2 separate regions of the Homo sapiens genome follow, and region 1 is linked to region 2. The links are contacts of gene promoters, found by promoter capture Hi-C in human tissues and cell types (Jung and others, 2019). All regions are on one chromosome and are shown on one strand. Each heading gives the region's core, a stretch centred on a gene start or on the middle of the fragment in contact. The rest is flanking DNA. Distances are from core to core; before and after follow the strand shown. Region 1 overlaps DST (dystonin). Region 2 holds the start of KIAA1586.

The links. The method cuts DNA at HindIII sites, captures the fragments that hold promoters and counts their contacts. A contact is called where the count stands out against the background at its distance.
Region 1: a contact is called between a fragment that was not itself captured here and the fragment with the promoter of KIAA1586 in region 2, in 2 of the 25 tissues and cell types used here (hippocampus and small bowel).

The regions. Positions count from the first base shown.
Region 1 is chr6:56,706,785-56,709,572 of GRCh38, reverse strand. The region is part of intron 5 of DST (dystonin); the gene reads left to right. Among named protein-coding and RNA genes, the nearest start is that of DST-AS1, 140 kb to the left of the region's middle. The HindIII fragment of the contact is 3,563 bases long and covers 1-2,788 here.
Region 2 is chr6:57,045,019-57,048,024 of GRCh38, reverse strand. KIAA1586 reads right to left here and starts at 1,332. Exons shown (of 4, transcript NM_020931.4): 1 at 1,249-1,332; 2 at 629-712. The coding sequence starts at 1,269. RefSeq lists enhancers at 1-744, 1,561-1,650 and a silencer at 2,280-2,574. The HindIII fragment of the contact is 7,542 bases long and covers 1-2,077 here.

The DNA.
Region 1 (2,788 bases), core at 43-2,542, 340 kb after region 2:
AATTTTTGTGAAATTTGTCTAGATTAACATCAACCACTATAATGTCAGACTTTTAAAAAAGGAAGTTTAAACATTCAGCAAGCAGTTATATAATGATTCTCTTTTCTTCAAAGTTGAATTTGATTTAGCCTATATAAAACCAAACAGTTATAGGTTAACAAAAGGAAATTTTCAGTGTAGTATTTTTGATAAGTTAAGCCATTTAGGTAATACAGACCTGGCATGAGCTAATGTGTTCTCACTCCAAAATAAATTTGAAATATTGTCCATGTCATCGCCAGCATCTTGTTTAGAATTTTTGTTGCCCATAGAGTGTTTTCTAGTCTATTTTACTTTCTTGGGATATTCTTTTAAGTAAAAGATTAGTGCCCCCTAGAGGTAAACTCTAGGTGCAATGCTATATACATATTTTTTTGAAGTACTGCAAAATTCTACGAGAATTGTGTGAAATACAGAAAATGCTGTATCAGCCTTGTTATGTAATTCAAGTTATGTAAGTTAATCCCAGAGTATTTCATAGTGCTTTTACTTTGCTCGTCACTTCCTCTAGCACTATTGATCCAGACAGTTTTTTGTCCCATAGGGAGAACATATCCAAAAAGAGAAAAAGGAATGCTTTATTAAAAACTGAAAATGGAATGTTAGGGATATTGGCGGTTAGTATAGTCATCTGTGAAGGAAAGTTACCAGGCCCAATGCCTATGACTCACTCCTAGGGTAAAATAAAAGCTTTTCTATGTAGGCTTAGCTGTCTACTTTCCCTTCTTTTCTTTCCCTTAAATTTCTTGCTCGATCAGATTGGAACCCCAATTCTTTCCCCTCAGTTCATTCCCGACCACCCTTTACCCATAATGTTGATTTTTAATTTTTAATAGCATCCTCTTTTATTCCACTCATTTGTGCTGAGGAAACTGACTCAGTATTATAAAGTACTTAGCACAAGGTTAGGCATCTAGTAGTAACTCATGGTGTGTGTGTTTTTGTTTATTATTGTTAGTGACATTTGCTTTTCGGAAAATGATATCTTATATTTTGTAGGATGTTTTCCATATACAGTATTTCTGTGGACCCTCAGAATAGTCAGCTGAGACAGGAAAAGCAGGCAGTATTGGGGATAGCCAGTGTCTTTGGATTTTTTTCAAGCATTATAGAAGTTAAATTAGTTTATTTCTGCATTTTCTTCTAAAATTCTTAAAAAATTAAGCCATAAGTCTTAAGAGTAGCTTTTATTTTATACATTTTCTAAGTTGACAGGTCATTGATTTTTTAAAATGATAATAATTTGATTTAAAGATTACAGACTTTTTGTTCTCTAGGTTGAACTAGGAGTTTTCTGTTTTCCAACCTTTATTTTAAAGATAAAAAAAACCCTGAAGCCTAGAGAGTTTAGGCTGTTGGTACAAATTCATAAGGCCAAGGGCAGAAGCAGGACTAAAATGTCTTTTCCCTTATCACAGGTTTTCTCTTTTCCTAATTTAGAGGGAGTCTCACTCTTTTGCCCAGGCTGGAGTGCAGTGGCATGATCACAGCTCACTGCCACCATGCCCAGCTAACTTTTTGTATTTTTAGTAGAGATGGGGTTTTACCATCTTAGCCAGGTTGGTCTTAAACTCCTGACCTCATGATCCACCCACCTCGGCCTCCCAAAGTGCTAGGATTACAGGCGTGAGCCACCACACCCGGCCATCTTTTCCTAGTTTAGATTTGCATGGCTTAATATTATTATTTTCCTTCTCTAAACATGTCTGTTTTAATTTTCCTTTGTTGTCACATAAATACGATAGTAGCAAATGACACCTGGTTTTGGAAAGTTTCCCTTATGTAGAGGGTTTTGTTCAGTCTGGCAAGTCAAGTTGTGAAATTGCCTTACTATGAGATAAGTGTTCAGAATCATACCCCATCTTTAACTGTCCTGGAGTGAGAAAGACACAAGAAGTGGAATATAGAGTGAAATGTAAGTCTGGTAGGGTGTAGGCATAGTGGACCAGAGAGCACAGAATTCTCAGCACTATTACAATCCTGGAAGTCCCCAAAGTAATCATGTGCTTGGATTCTACTGTCCTTCTGTGTACTGAGGATATCAGACCTGCACAATAAAGCCATTTATTTTGAGAGACAAAGCAGCTGGCTGAGGATCAGGAGCTGTATAATATTGTTTATATAAATATAATCTTTTAGTGTTCCCATTCAGGCTCTTTTAGAGTTTGGCTGCTTTCTGGTTATATTGAAGATACGCAGAGAAGTACATAGATTTAGAATGTACATGACATTCACAAGCTTAGCTTTTCTGCCTTGTTTTTAAGTAGGCCTTAGCCTTATAAATTCAAGCTTGTGCCTTAGAACGGGACTGGGTGAATTCTTACAGTGCTCTAATACAAGAGTCCCCAACCCCCAGGCCACAGACAGGTACTGGTCCGGTCCATGGCCTGTTAGGAAGTGGCCTGCACAGTAGGAGGCGAGCATTGGGCCAGCCAGCCTTACCACCTGAGCTCTGCCTCCTGTCAGATCAGTGATGGCGTTAGATTCTCATAGGAGCATGAAACCTATTGTTTTGTTTGTTTGTTTTTTGAGACAGAATCTCACTCTGTTGCCCAGGCTAGAGTGCAGTGGCATGATCTCGGCTCACTGCAACCTCCGCCTCTTGGGTTCGAGTGATTCTCCTGCCTCAGCGTCCCAAGTAGCTGGGATTACAGGCATACGCCACATTGCCCGGCTAATTTTTTTTTGTTATTTTTAGTAGAGATGGGTTTTGCCATGTTGGCCAGGCTGGTCTCGAACTCCTGACCTC
Region 2 (3,006 bases), core at 83-2,582:
GGCCCCCGCCTGGAAATTCTGATTCGGTAGGTCTGCAGTGGGGCCCAGGAATCTGCCTGTTTATACTTACTAAGGCTTGAAAACTACTGTCTCAAAGGGAACAAACTCAGAAAAATAGAGCATGTTCCCAGTGATGTAGGATTCTTCATTATGAGCATCAACTGTACTATGCCGTAACATGATGATCTCAGAGGTTAGAGAAATCTTCAAGCTATTTGCCTTCATGTTAGAAGCACCATAACGCTAAGATTCTGGGCTCTCACAACCCTTCCTGTTTTCTACGTCCTTGCTCATCATTAGCAGCTCCTTCCTCCGTGTCGCCTTTAGAAGTTACTCTTGCTCCATTTCAAAACAGCGTTTTAGACACCAGCGTTTTTATCTTAAGTTTAAATGAAAGGCAGGGGGCGAGATTAAGTGTACAGCACGTTCTTTAGGACGTGCTCTTTGTGATGGCTACGGGGGTGGCTCAGATAGCTCTTTTGGTAAATTTCCCAATCCTGCGCCATGCTCCAGTGTCTAGTATGTATTAGACACTCATGAACATTAAATGACCAGGTGAGGTAACATTACATAATGGCCCACCATAGTCTTTTACTCTGGGAAAACCCCAATCATCATTGCTACTTACACTGACAAACTGAATGTCGTCTTCATTTTCATCCGTTGTTGACTCAGATGCCTCAGGGCCAGCTGGAGGGACAGATTCTATTATCTATAAAAACAAGCCAAAACATGCTTATCTGTTCAGCCACATTCGTGTAGGAAGAGAGCGTTTCCGAAAGGAACAATTAAAGACAGAGAGCTCTTGAGGAAAACGAACTGAGCACAATTTCACGGAAACCCGACTAGGAACGGAACTCGAGCTCTGGCTCTTGCCACAGAGTGTGCGGAGCTGCAGGGACCCAACGCTGAAAACGCGTTAGTTACCAGCCTCTCACAATTCCCCTTATCTACTCCAGGAGGAACGCAAGCTCAACACCGAAGGGCAATCCTGCCTTAAAACGTCGCTCCCACTGGCCCAGCCGCGGCCACAACGAACGCCAGGGCCCGTGCGGGGGGCCGGGCGGCCATTGTTGCTGCGGGTTCCTCGCTCAGACACGCACCAGGCCCCAGAGCTGGGCTCGGCCCAAGACACTGAAGAGGTATCGCCCCGAGGCTGCGACGGAGCACCAGGCCTCAGACCGCAGAAAACACAAACCCTTCGCGGTTCGCCTCTGAGAACGCCAGGACCCTCACTCGACTACTCACTTCCGACCCCGGGTCTCCCATGTCTCCGACGGCCGCGCTGACAGCACCACTGCTCCTGCTGTCCCTACTGCCGCAGCCGCCACCACTCCCCTTCCCGCCCTGCACCGCCTCGCGCTACCGGGACCCGCCCCTGCGTGAGCTGGGAGGCCACTGGCGGAAAGAGACGAAAACCGCTTCAAAAGAGGGGCAGCCCTCACTGGTCCGCTATCTCCCCGGAGCCTCTTTCTCTCATTCCCGGGCTTCCTTCCCCGCGCCGCAGAGGATGCTGGGATGGTAGTTCCTACCCGCCGCGCGACCGCGCCGCGCGACTGCCCCGCGCGTGGGTGAAGAATGGAAAAAGACTCTGAGCTACAGCGAAGTCGTCTCCCTTCGGTGTTGCTCTACTATAATAAAATAGCCGAGTTCTTTCTCTCACTTTTTCACAACCAAATATTCGTCTATGTAATAGATCAATGGGAATGAAAAAAAATTGTGTGTGATTTGCTCAGAAATTGCCTTACCAAAATCGTGGCTCACCTTTTTATTTTAACATTTATTCACAAATGATTTTAAACATGAAATTTATGAAAGCAAATTTTAACAGAGAATATTCTTTTAAAGCTTTTATTTGTTTACCTCTATCAGCCTAGGACCACCTGTTATTGACAAGTCTGTAGTCCCAGAAAATCACCTTTATCATTTTGACCCTGATCTACAATGCACAAAATTATACAACAAAGGAGCTATGAGGTATCTGATTAGCCAACTGATCTTCAGCAAAGCAAACAAAAACATAAAGTGGGGAAAGGACACCCTTTTCAACAAATGGTGCTGGGATAATTGGTGACCCACATGTAGAAGAATTAAACTGGATCCTCATCTCTCACCTTATACAAAAATCAACTCAAGATGCATCAAAGACTTAAATCTAAGACCCGAAGTCATAAAAATTGCTCAAGATAACACCGGAAAAATACCTTCTAGACATTGGCTTAGGCAAAGACTTCGCGATGAAGAACCCAAAAGCAAATGCAACAGAAACAAAGATAAATAGACTGAACTTAATTAAACTAAAAAGCTTCTGCACAGCAAAAAAAATAATCAGCAGAGTAAACAGACAACCCACAAAGTGGGAGAAAAGGAGAACATAGGAACAAAGGAAAACATAGACTTACTAGGATTTTAAGGAGTTGGTGAAATTTAAGTGAAGCAGTGTTTTGATAGGTTCAAAACCGTCTAGTGCTGTGTGTAAAGGGTTCAACATCACATACGGACTGCATAGCGAGCCCAGGGTCTTGTTAACTTCAAAACTACAAAGTTAACACACACAGAGTATTGTGCTCAGAAACCCCTTCCTCCGTGTAGCCATGCCCTAAGTGTGTGGATTTATTTCTGGGTACTGTATTCTGTTCCATTTGTCTGTGTGTCTGTTTTTATACCAGTACCATGCTGTTTTGGTTACTATAGCTCTGTAGTAGAATTTGAAGTCATGTAATGTGATTCCTCCAGTTTTGTTCTTTTTGCTCAGGTTAGCTTTTGCTATTATTCTCGGTCTTTTGTGGTTCCACATAAATTTTAGAATTGTTTATTCTGCTTCTGTGAAGAATGTCATTGGTATTTTGATGGGGATTGGATTCAATCTGTAGATTGTTTTGGGTAGTATGGGTAGTATGGACATTTTTTAAAAATAAAAATGTATTTTTTATTTCAATAGGTTTTTAGGAAGCAGGTGGTGTTTGGTTACATGCATAAGTTCTTTAGTGGTGGTTTCTGAGATTT